3 separate regions of the Homo sapiens genome follow, and regions 2 and 3 are each linked to region 1. Evidence: promoter capture Hi-C in human tissues and cell types (Jung and others, 2019). All regions are on one chromosome and are shown on one strand. The core of a region is centred on a gene start or on the middle of the fragment in contact, and the rest is flanking DNA. Distances in the headings are between cores, read along the strand shown.

The links. The method cuts DNA at HindIII sites, captures the fragments that hold promoters and counts their contacts. A contact is called where the count stands out against the background at its distance.
Region 2: a contact is called between a fragment that was not itself captured here and the fragment with the promoter of MERTK in region 1, in 1 of the 25 tissues and cell types used here (bladder).
Region 3: a contact is called between a fragment that was not itself captured here and the fragment with the promoter of MERTK in region 1, in 1 of the 25 tissues and cell types used here (dorsolateral prefrontal cortex).

Annotation. Positions count from the first base shown.
Region 1 is chr2:111,897,357-111,901,505 of GRCh38, forward strand. It overlaps MERTK (MER proto-oncogene, tyrosine kinase), which reads left to right and starts at 1,251. Exons shown (of 19, transcript NM_006343.3): 1 at 1,251-1,440. The coding sequence starts at 1,380. RefSeq lists an enhancer at 390-719. The HindIII fragment of the contact is 10,682 bases long and covers 1-4,149 here.
Region 2 is chr2:111,851,442-111,855,590 of GRCh38, forward strand. The region is part of intron 13 of ANAPC1 (anaphase promoting complex subunit 1); the gene reads right to left. Among named protein-coding and RNA genes, the nearest start is that of ANAPC1, 31 kb to the right of the region's middle. The HindIII fragment of the contact is 4,477 bases long and covers 1-4,149 here.
Region 3 is chr2:111,942,565-111,946,713 of GRCh38, forward strand. It overlaps MERTK (MER proto-oncogene, tyrosine kinase), which reads left to right. Exons shown (of 19, transcript NM_006343.3): 3 at 2,396-2,496. Among named protein-coding and RNA genes, the nearest start is that of MERTK, 46 kb to the left of the region's middle. The HindIII fragment of the contact is 5,421 bases long and covers 1-4,149 here.

The DNA of each region.
Region 1 (4,149 bases), core at 1-2,500:
TTGCTGTCGGTGTAAGTAATAACCTGTCTAAACCCATCTGGGCTGCCTGTCTCCTTCCCGTAGCCAAATCTACGGGAAGTGTCCAGCCAGTGTAGGGGTCAAGGGACCGCTTGACGAGACCAACGTAAATTGAAGAGGCGTAAGGAGATGAGGCCAAAGAGGAAAGGGGACCAGGTCACGTAGAACCTCGTAGACCACTGCAGAACCTTGGCTTACGTACGCAGAGACAGCAGGAACCACTGATAGGTTTAGGGAGATTTGAGGAGAGGGACATGATTTGGCTTATGTTATGTTGTTAAAGGGACCACATTAAAATACATTCATTCTAAAAGTGTTACCTTTAAGAAACTACGTATATAAATTAAGTTACTGTTGCCATTATTAGCGTAAGTAGTTACATTTCTCTTACGACTCACTCTCTGCTACTGCCTCTTGGACCCTGCACACCTTGTGGAGGCCCATGAGAGTGACGTGCTGTGGTTCCCCCTCTCCCCACTCCTGCTCTGCACTTTGTCATTCACGTTCATCTCCCTCCTTGAGTGTCACCTCTCTCTGGCTCGTCACGGAGCCACGGCAAAGCGTCCTTTCCCAGGAACCCCTCCCCCTGGGGAGGTGAGCTCCTCGCCGCCAGGGCCGTGTCGCGCACCTCGGGCCGGGTACCCAGGCGGCGCTCGGCGGCGAGCGGAATGGATGTGGAGGAGCGCTCGGCAGGGAGCGCTGCCGCCCTGGCCTTGGCCTCTGGGAGCGGCGCGGCCAGGGTTTTCTGTGTCAGCCAAGCCCGGAATGCGGGGGCGCCTCTGGACCCTCCTCTTGGGTCTGGGGGCTGCCTCGGGCATCCTCTACTCCTCTCCCACCTTCTGTCCTTCCCCATCTCCCACCCACACGTGTGGGGCCCCGGACCCGCGCAGCGGCCAGAGCCTTCCGCTGTGGACCTCCAGTCCACCCCTCCCCTTCACTTCTCTTTCCGGCTCCCTCCGGGTCTCTCAGCCCCCTCCCCTTCCTCTCCGCCCCCTTCCCCGCCGTCTGCCCAGCGGCGGCCTTCGGCCCGCCCCTTCTCTCCAACCCCCTCCCTTTCCCCTTTACGCCCCTCCTCCCCCTCGTCCTCCCGCCCCCTCCCACCCCAACCTGCTGGGCCCGCCGGGACTCGCCCCCCTGCCCGCTCCTCTCCTCCAGCCCCGGCCGGCCTCGGCTCGGCCCCCGGCCCGCCCCTTCCAGCCCTCGGCACCTCCCGCCGGCCGCTTGGCTCCGCCACTCGGCACTCACTGCCCGGGCCGCCCGGACAGGGAGCTTCGCTGGCGCGCTTGGCCGGCGACAGGACAGGTTCGGGACGTCCATCTGTCCATCCGTCCGGAGAGAAATTACAGATCCGCAGCCCCGGGATGGGGCCGGCCCCGCTGCCGCTGCTGCTGGGCCTCTTCCTCCCCGCGCTCTGGCGTAGAGGTGAGTGCGCCCGGCTGGGGGCCAGGCGAGGGGGTGGGGGCTCCCAGGAGGAAGCAGGGGCCTCTGGGGAGGGAGCGCGTCCACAGGGGCGCGCCTGGCTGCTGGACAAGTTTGCAAACACCCTCCACCCACTGCGGTGCCAGAGGAGGGGGCGTAGGCGAACCTACCGTCCACTGACCGCGGCGCCTCAAGCGTCCCGAGGGCACCCAGCCTGGCTTGCGGGTGCGCATCGTGGTGAAGCCGGGTCGGGGTCGGCGTTGCAGGCTCCCCTCTTCACCGCAGAGGAGGAAATCGAGCTCGGCCGGGCGCGCTGCAAGTCCTGAAGTTCCGACGAGTGGAACGTAGGTAGCAGGTCTGGTCTGGGATGCGACGAGAACTTTCCACTAGAGTTGCATGGTGGGGCCCCGCTCTGGCCGGAGTCCCGGGGGCCACAGATCCGGTCTCCCGAGGGACCGGCGCGGGGCGAACGAACGGGCTGCGGGAGTCGGAGCCGCAGTCCGGGAGCCGCGATAGACTGAGGCCGAGCGACGGGCCAGGGGGGGACGGCAGTCCTGGCTGCTCCCAATGGGCCCTTACGGGCATTATTAGTATCCCTTTTTAGGGGCACCCAGAGAGTGTGGGAAAAGGGGAGCGTTCTTTTCACTCCTGTTATGGCAGAACAGAACTTACAGTGCTCGGCAGCGTTTACGTTTATCTGGATTCAGCGAAGTGTTGTTACAGGCTTTTTTTTTTTTAATTTGAGACCGAGTCTCGCCCTGTCGCCCAGGCTGGAGTGCCGCGGCGCGATCTCGGCTCACTGCAGGCTCCGCCTCCCGGGTTCAAGCGATTCTCCTGCCTCAGCCTCCCGAGTAGCTGAGACTATAGACGCGCGCTACCACGTCCGGCTAATTTTTGTATTTTTAGTAGAGACGGGGTTTCACCATGTTGGCCAGGATGGTCTCGATCTCTTGACCTCGTGATCTGCTCTCCTTGGCCTCCCAAAGTTCTGGGATTACAGTCGTGAGCCACCGCGCCCGGCTTGTTCCAGGCATTTTAATACAAGATGCTGGACTGATACGTGGAGGCAAGGAAGGCCGGTTTCATTCTGCTTGAACAGCTTATTTGGGGAGTGAGTGATGAACAGATTTCAAGTTTGATCGCTGATGCACTTCTTGAGGAGGCTGGAATAAACTTACCAGGCTTTACCCAAAAGAAAAAGAAAGGGGAAAAATGCTAAATAAACACATTCCAAGTATTTTCTCTCAGCTAAAAGGTTTCTATTTCCATTCAGCATGTAGATTTTCTCTCTTTTGATCGAGAATGCACTTGACTAGCCTTCACCTATTACAGTCAAAGATGTTTTTTAGGAATACCTGGAAAGCTCAGTTTATAGTCAAGTAAGTTACTTAAAAGTTTTTCCTTTGAGATTTTCCTTTGAAAGCTCATTTACTCAAATGAAAAATTCTTAAACAGTGCACCCACTTTTTGCACGTTAAATTACATAAGCAATTTATAATTTGGGGCAACATAGCAATTTGAAACAAACTTTAAGAGCCAGGCAAAGAACTAAAGCAGTTCTGTTCTCCACTGCCCCTCCCTCCACCAAACCTTCAAAAATTCCTCAGCATTTCTGCCAGCCCCATTTTTCATAATCTGCTGCAAATCTGTTATTTGTTGCTACTAGTGAGGACTGGCCGTGAATAGTCTTGGAGGTAGTGAATGTGGTGAGAACTATGGAGAAAGTAATGGGAACAATAGTTTTGTGTTAAATACTTAAAAATTGGAGTGCTTTTGTTTTTCTAAAATTTTAAAAGGCTGTAATAACAAATTTTTGTAGCTGACAATCAACTTTAATCAGACAATCATAAAAAGGCCTTTTAAAATCCACCCAGCTGGAAGAATGAAAAGTTTCACCAATCGTTCTTGCACTTTTTGCTTTTGGTTTTGAACTTTACCTATGAGATGTGTGACAGTTTTACATCTCACCTTGTGAAAAGCTTAAAGAATGGGATTCTCACTGGCAGAATTACAGCACAAAGGAGTGCTGTATGAAGAAATTAAACATGGAAATTAGACTCTTCATCTAATTTTAAGATTTTCCTATTACACATTGTGGGTCTGAGTGCTTTGCTGACCACACAGGGGAGACAGAGAGAGAGACAATGAGAATATGTGTGTAGATTCTACACTGTTAGCAGTATAGAAGAATGGGTAAATAAAATTTAAGCATCACTTTAACCCAGGAAATCCCCTCTGCCCCCCAACACACATACACACTACACGTCTCACAAAGACATGCACACACAGAACTGGAACTGCCAAACCAGGAGCATTTCGAGGCTTTCCAGTCTTTCCTTTCTGCTCAGTCTCTGATGGGGGTGCCATTGAGCAGCAAAATGAGGCAAGCGGTGGCTCTCTGAAGGGCCAGGGAGAGGATGGAGCAAGATAAATATAAATGTGGATAAAAATGAATGCATTATGAGGACTTAGCTCATGACGAGGCTGTGTGTGCAGCTAAACTCAACCCTTAGAGTAAATTAGGCTTTTAAGATTCTTTAATGTTAATATTTCTTTTCCAAACTGATATTGTAACATGTATTCCAGTATATTGTAAACATCTTCCCAGAGGGAACTTTTAAGTTGTTCTGTTGCTTGTGGGCTTTATTCCAAAGGCTTCAAATGCTTTTTGAAAGTACATCGTGCATATTTTAAAAATGAATACTTTTAGAA
Region 2 (4,149 bases), core at 805-3,304, 45 kb before region 1:
GTTAATATAGTCAACACATTATATAAAAATCTGCACACTATGTACTCTTCTACCTTTTTGGTCATAAAGACAGTAAGAACAGCGGCCGGGCGCGGTGGCTCACGCCTGTAATCCTAACACTTTGGGAGGCCGAGGCGGGCGGATCACAAGGTCAGGAGTTCAAGAGCATCCTGCCTAACACAGTGAAACCCCATCTCTACTAAAAATTAAAAAAAAAAAATTAGCCGGGCGTGGTGGCGGGCGCCTGTAGTCCCAGCTACTCTGAGGCTGAGGCAGGAGAATGGTGTGAACCCGGCAGGCAGAACTTGCAGTGAGCCGAGATCGCGCCACTGCACTCCAGCCCAGGCAACAAGAACGAAACTCTGTCTCAAAAAAAAAAAAGAATGAGTTGACAATCCGTGCTAACCACTCCTTATTTTGGCTATCTGTAGGGTACTTAGCAAAAACAGAAATTCACATCTGTACAAGCTGAAAACTTGATAAGACTAAAAAGGAGATGCTCAGAACTAAAATGAGATATTAACAACGTACGTATTCATGTTAACACACTACTCAAAAGCTAACAAAATAACAGAAGTTGCCCCAATAAAATCCTTAGGCTTAAAAAACAAAAATAACAGTGAGAACTAATTATGCATAATTTTTTAAAAGCTATCTCAAACCCCTAATTTACGAAAAGATGGAATAAGCACATACCATGCTATTCCCTCATTAATCACCAAAAAGAAAAAAAAACTGAATAAAATTTATAATGCAACTAACAGAAGATTCTGAAAAAGTGAAGAAAAGAAGACAAACTGGCTAGTAACCTGAGACCCAGGAATGACCTAATGATGAATTCCCTAGGTTTCTGGTTTGATTCCTTACGTAACCAGGCCTTAGGCTTTCAAAGTGCCTATAACACAGACATGCCAACGTTCACAGACAAAACACGCCCTAAGAAAATCTTACTCTTTCCAGCCAAAGTGTTGGGAAAAGAATGACTGACCAGGACAGAAACTTTTCACTATATCTGCCCTACTCTTTGCAAACACCAAGAAAAAAGTCATGGCCATCCCTTCCTCCTCATCAGGAGGCACAGTGAAAATTTTGAATGTCCCTCGTCTATTTGAGGAAGTCCCCTTCTATTTCTAGATGCTGAGGATTTTTTTTAATCATGGATATTTTATTTTATCAAATGATTTCTCTGCATCTATTTAGATCCTTGGTCAGCAAACCATGTTCCATGACCAAATCTGGCTCGTATCCTGTTTTTGTACAGTCTGTGAGCTAAGAATAGGTTTTACGTACTTAAATGGTTAAGGAAAAAAAAAACAGAAGACAAATATGTAACAGAGACTGCATGTGGCCCATAGAGGCTAAGATACTTGTCTGAACTCCTACATAAAAAGTTTGCCAGGCTTGATGTGGTGGCTCATGTCTGTAATATCCCAGCACTTTGGGAGGCTGAGGTGGGAGGATCGCTTGAGTCAGGAGGTCATGGGTGCAGTGAGCTGTGATCCCACCACTGCACTCCAGCCTGAGTAACAGAGAGAGATACTGTATCAAAAAAAAAGAAGAGAAAAGAAATTGCCAAGGATGGAGAGGACATGAACAACATTATCAACCAAATGGAATGAACTGACATTTATAAAATACTCAAGGGTGCCTTCTTGGTGATTTGGCCCTTTAAAGTCTCTCTTTGTTCCTGGTCATTTTTTTTTCCCACTTTATAGAGACTCCAGCTATCTTCTGATTACTGTTTGCATAATATATCTTCTTTCCATCCTTTAACTTACCCATGTCATTATATTTGAAGAACACTTCTTATAACCAACATATATAGTTGGGCTGTATTTTCTAATCTCTTCCGCTAGTCTCTGTTATTTGTGTTAGACCATTGTATTTAATTAGTGGCCTAGTGGGATTTAAATCTGCCATTTAATATTTGTTTTCTGTATGTTCCCACTTTCTTTGCTCATCCAGAAGAAGCAACTCTTCAAGTTTGATCATAAGATTTTGGCAATTCTGTTCAAGTTTGGCAATTCTGTTCAGGTTTAATCATAAGATCTTGGCAATTTAGTCACATCTTCAGGCTCTACTTCTAATTCTAATTCTCCTGCTATTTCCACCACATCTGCAGTGACTTCCTCCACTGAAGTTTTGAGCCCCTCAAAGTCACCCATGAGGGTTGGAATCAACTTCTTCCAAATTCCTGTTTATGTTGATATTTTGTCCTCCTCCCATGGATCATGAATATTCTTAATGGCATCTAGAAAGGTGAATCCTTTCCAGAAGGTTTCTTTTTTTTTTTGAGATGGAGTCTCCCTCTGTCGCCCAGGCTGGAGTGCAGTGGCGTAATCTCGGCTCACTGCAAGCTCCGCCTCCTGGGTTCACGCCAGTCTCCTGCCTCAGCCTCCCGAGTAGCTGGAACTACAGGCACCCGCCACCACGCCCGGCTAATTTTTTGTACTTTTAGTAGACACAGGGTTTCACCGTGTTAGCCAGGATGGTCTCGATCTCCTGACCTCATGATCCACCTGCCTCGGCCTCCCAAAGTGCTAGGATTACAGGTGTGAGCTGCCACGCCCAGCCCAGAAGGTTTTCAGTGGACTTTGCCAGATCTCTCAGAGGAATCACTATCTATGGCAGCTCCAGTTAAGTAATGTATTTCATAGTAAGACTTTAAAGTCAAAATTACTCCTTCACAGGCTGCAGAACAGATGTGTCAGCAGGCATGAAAACAACATTCATCTCCTGTACATCTCCCTCAGAGCTCTTAGATGACCAGGTGCACTGTCAATGAGCGGTAATATTTTGAAAGGAATCTTTTTTCTGAGCAATACGTCTCAACAGTGGGCTTAACACATTCAGTAAACCATGCTATAAACAGGTGTGCTGGCATCCAGTCTTTGTTACTCCATTTATAGAGCCCAGGCAGAGCAGACTTGGCATAATTCTTAAGGGCCCTAAGATTTTTGGAATGGTAAATGAGCACGGGCTTCAACTTTAAGTCACCAGCTGCATTAGCCCCTAACAAGAGAGTCAGACTGTCCTTTGAAGCCAGGCACTGACTTCTCCTCTCAGGTTATGAAAGTCCTAGATGGCATCTTCTTCCAACAGAAAGCTGTTTCATCCACACTGAAAATCTGTTTAGTGTAGCCACCTGCATCAATTATCTTAGCAGCTTCTACATCAGCACATGCTGCTTCACCTTGCACTTCTGTGTTATGGGGAGGGCTTTTTTCCTTAAACCTCAAGAATCAACCTCTGTTAGCTTACAACTTTTCGTCTGCAGCTTCTTCACCTTTCTTGGCCGTCACAGAATTGAAGAGAGTTAAGGCCTTGCTGTGGATTCGACTTCAGCATAAGGGAATGTTATGGCTGGTTTGATCTTCTGTCCAGACACTAAAACTTTCTTCATATCAGCGATAAGGCTGTTTCGCTTTATCAGTTGCCATGTTCACTGAAATAGCACTTTTAATTTCCTTCGAGAGCTTTTCCTCTGCATGCACAAGTTGGCTCTTGTGCACAGGTGGTCTGGCTCTCAACCTATCTCAGCTTTCAACACGCCTTCCTCACTAAGCTTAATCATTTCTAGTTTTTGATGTAAAGTGAGAAACCTGTGATTCTTCCCTTCATTTGAAAACTTAGAGGCCATTAGAGGGTTACTAATTGGTCTAATTTCAATATTGTTTTGTCTCAGGATATAGTGAGGCAGGAGGAGACAGAGAGACAGGAAAGGGGTCAAATGATCAGACAGACCACACAAAACATTTATCAATTAAGTTCCTCATCTTATATGGGTACAGTTCGTGGTGCCCCAAAAGAATTCCAATAGTAACATCAAAGACCACTGATCACAGGTCACCATAACAGATAAACTAATAACAAAAAGGTTTGAAATATTGCAAGAATTATCAATATTTGAAACAGTGACACAAAATGAGCACATGCTGCTGGAAAAATGGCACCAACAGACTTGCTCAACACGAAGTTGCCACAAACCTTCAATCTGTAAAAAAAAATGCAGTATCTGTGAAGTACAATAAAGCAAAGCACAAAATGAGGTACGATGGAATACTATTAAATATATACATCACACTGAATGAGTAAACAACACACGCATCAACACAGACAAATCTAAAACAAATATAATGTTGAGCAAAA
Region 3 (4,149 bases), core at 1,173-3,672, 46 kb after region 1:
CCTGGTAACCTCTAAGCATTGTGACATCCAGCCACTGCCCCAAAGCATGAAAGGATCTGGCCTTTCCTTGATCCCTGGGACCTCCCCCATGCCCACCATTCATTCATCAGGTGCATTCCAAAATTATATTGCTCCTACAAAAGAACGAGGGGAAAGGGGAAGACAGAGCATTTCAAGTCAAAGGGAAGCCACTCAGATTTACACATCAGGAAATGCAATGACAGGGGACTGTTAACTCCTGGATCCTGGGAACAGTAAGGAAGTAATGTTAACCTGAGTAGCTCTGACCCCCCGAGTTCTGACTGATGCCATTGTTGAGCTGTGTCTTAGCTGCTCTATTTATCACAGGCCAATGAGGATCTGCAAAATGGTATTGTTGGGAAGAAGTAAATTTAAAATGTTTAGTGTTCAGAAAACTGAATTCAACCTAAGGAAACTCTGTCTCATTCAGACCTGGGGACCTCACTCACTACCACATGTCTGCTCCAGATGCTAACCAGGCTGTGCTATCCTCTGGCAGCTGCCACCCCTGCCTATCAGGCCATGGTTCAGGATGGAGCCCCCTCTACCCTTGACAGCTTCCTGGTTTCTTTTAAGCCTTAAGCCTCAGCCCTTCACAGGTTGAGGGATGAGATTTATTTTGTTTAGAAATAAATAGGTTATACAGGGAAGCAAGCTTCTAGGAAGGAAGGTGGAACTTCCATGTTTTTCTTCTTTTTCTTCGTTCCCCTGGTCATGGTCTTCTTTGCTGTGTTTAAAGAGGAGTGTCTTTGAGCCAATAAAGAAATCCTCTGGAGAGCATCTGAAAGTATTTAAAAATGTTCCCCGGCTGAGAACGGTGGCTCATGGCTGTAATCCTAGCACTTTGGGAGGCTGAGGTGGGAAGATGGCTTGAGCCCAGGAGTTCAAGGCTGCAGTGAGCCATGATGGTGCAACTGCACTCCAGCTTGGGTGACAGAGCGAGACCCCATCTAAAATAAAATAAAATAAAATGTGCATTTCAACATGTAAACACCGGGCATGTCCACCCCAGGAGAGATCATTAAGTACCCAGGGACTTGCACCTTAGGTGCACCTTCAAGCACTTGACCTGTGACTGCTGCAAATACAGTCATGCTGTCAGTGAGAGACCTTACAAAATGATGGCTAGGGCCCCAGAAAGTTCTAAACAGGACAAAGGCTACCAGCTCTCCATTTTTATAGTCATTGCAGTCCTGGTAAATTAGGTGAATATTGAAACCATACAAGTATGTTAAATGGAATTAGGGTCTAGTCTCAGGAGGTCATTTGGGATATGGAACAGTTGCCCTTGGCCCCTAAAAACCCATGGAGCCCCCCTAGTCATTGTGACCACCAAAAACAACTCCACAAATTTCCAAAATGCCTTGAGGGGGCAGTACCCCAATGCAGAGAACCACTGGTGCAGAGTCTACCATAGAAATCAAGACAGGTGGCCGGGCATGGTGGCTCATGCCCATAATCCTAGCACTTTGGGAGGCCAAGGTGGGTGGATCCCCTAAGGTCAGAAGTTCGAGACCAGCCTGGCCAACATGGCAAATCCCTGTCTCTACTAAAAAATGCAAAAATTAATCGGGCATGGTGGCGCATGCCTGTAATCCCAGCTACTCAGGAGGCTGAGGCAGGACAATCACTTGAACCCAGGAGGCAGATGTTGCAGTGAGCTGAGATCATGCCATTGTACTCCAGCCTGGGCTACAGAGTGAGACAGAATCTGTCTCAAAAAAAAAAAAAAAAAAAAAAATCAAGACAAGTGATAGCACATATATTAGTCAGGGTTTTTCCAAGAAACCGAACCTATAGGATCTGTGTCTACAGCTTTATCTAGAAAGAGAGAGAAAGAGGAATTATTTTAAGGAATTTTCCTTAGTTCCTTAAATTAACTCCTAAATTATTTATTAATTCCTAAATTATGAATTCCTTAAAATAATTCCTCTGTTTTAAGGAATTAGCTCACACACAGTGGGGGCTGACAAATATGGAATCAACAGGGTGTTGGGTGGAGACCCATGAAAGACTTGATGTTGCAGTCTTGAGTCCTCAGGCAGTTTGGAAACAGAAGCCCCTCTTTCCCTGGGGACCTCTGTCTTTTTCTTATAAGGCCTTCAACTGTTTGGATGGGGCCTGCCCCCATCATGAAGAGTAATGTGCTTTACTCAAAGGCTGCTGCTTTAAATGCTAGTGACATGTGAAAAGTACCTTCACAGCAACATCTAGGCTAGGGTTTGACCAAACAACTGCGTACAATGGCCTAGCCAAGCTGACATATAAAATTAACTATCACAGCATATGACAAAGAAGTTGAAGAAGTTTCCATCCTATAATAGGAACTCAAAGGGTAGTCACTGTAAATATCTTCATGTGTTTTTCTTTGCAGCATAACCAGTGTGCAGCGTTCAGACAATGGGTCGTATATCTGTAAGATGAAAATAAACAATGAAGAGATCGTGTCTGATCCCATCTACATCGAAGTACAAGGTAAGTCCACAGACCAGAGTCCCATTGCCAGAGAACTGTTTGTTTTAGGGCCTGTGTTAAATGTTTTGTGTATAATACTCTAGAGTTTTGCCTGCCTATTTATAACTCTGTATGCAAACCTTGCAAATCTATCAGCACTGAAATTTTACAAGGTACTCCACTTTGTAGTCTATAAGTAATAATGAAATGAATTCAATTCCTGAAGTTTGAGCTCTATTATAGGCATTACAGGTGAGATAAAAAGAGATTTTGGACTTCCTTGTCCACAGATTATTGACAATAAAAATAAGCTGAAGACTTCTTTTTAAGAAGCAAAATGCTTTCTACTATCCAGTTTCCAGTACTGGTACCAGATACCACTCACCTGGTCAAGTGGCTGTTGGCTTATTATTCAGCATCTTTTCCTGTCTTGCCTATGCAGACAGTGAAACCCTGGAGGGTGAGTGGTTTTCCTCGACTGGCTCAACAGCTCAGCCTGAGACTTCTTTTGGGCACTGGTATCTGTCAGGTGCATGGTTCAGAGAAATTCCATGACATCATATGAAGGTCCATGGGGATGAAGAGTGAGACATCAGGCTAGGAAAAGGCAATCTCTGCCCTCAGGGAACTTGAACTCTAATGGGCAATGTGAGCTGATGCACAGGTGAACCAGGCCAGGTGAGCCCAGGTCCTGGTTTGGTGCCCTGATTTGGGGGTTTGCATGCCTGGTTCTGCAATGGCAGTGCTGCAAGGAGGAAGCATCTTTATTATCACCCTCAGAGGTCACTCCTCACTACCCCTGGGGGCTTCCCTCTGGGGGCCTTGTGCCCCTCCTCTCTGAGGTGCCCCTCTTAGCAGAGCCATTAGGTCACCTCCCTTTTCTACTTTATCCTGACCTTCCTTGTCACAGGCTTTAGAGCAGGTGATTAGCTTTTCAGTCAGAAACATCTCCCACTGAAAGTCTGCTATGCTACCCATTCTTTTGTGAACCTGAAATTGATGCCCACCAATGTGGAGGGAAGCCTCAGGGAGCACAGATGGAAGGAGGAGGAGTGAGTGGGGAAGACAGAGGGGAGGGGGAAGAGACTCCCTCAGAGGAGTCTCTTCATGACCTTTGCTCTAGGCCCATCCCAGGCTGGACAGCTCTTTCTCAGGGTTACGTCAACATCAGCCAAAGAGGGGGTTTCCTACATTTGCAGCTAATTTGGGAAAAAAATATTTACAGGAGATTTTATTTGTCAGAATCCCAGAAAAATGCCCAGAGCAGGAACATATTAAGTCCAAACAGAGTTTCAAAAAAACCTTGAAACAGGATAAAAGAATTCCATTTCACATAACTGCCACGTCATTCCTGCTGGAACCAGATCTGTGAGTTCCCAATCCCCAAAAGAACACAATTAGCTGGACTCGTTATATTTTTGAACACCTGCCCCAAATGAGTACTGACTGGCTTTCTCTGAGCTTCCTTGGGACCTTGATTTTGGAAAGTACGGTAGATTTAAGGATTGTAACTGCAACTGTGTTTATACAGTTTTCATGAGAATTTGCTTTGAAAAGCACTCAGCCTTATACAAGGCTGTGGATTTTAAAATTCCTTATGACCCATCTGAAAGTCACACACATAATAGAATGTCTTCGTACCATGGACAGATCTATTACATAGCTTTGTTTTAC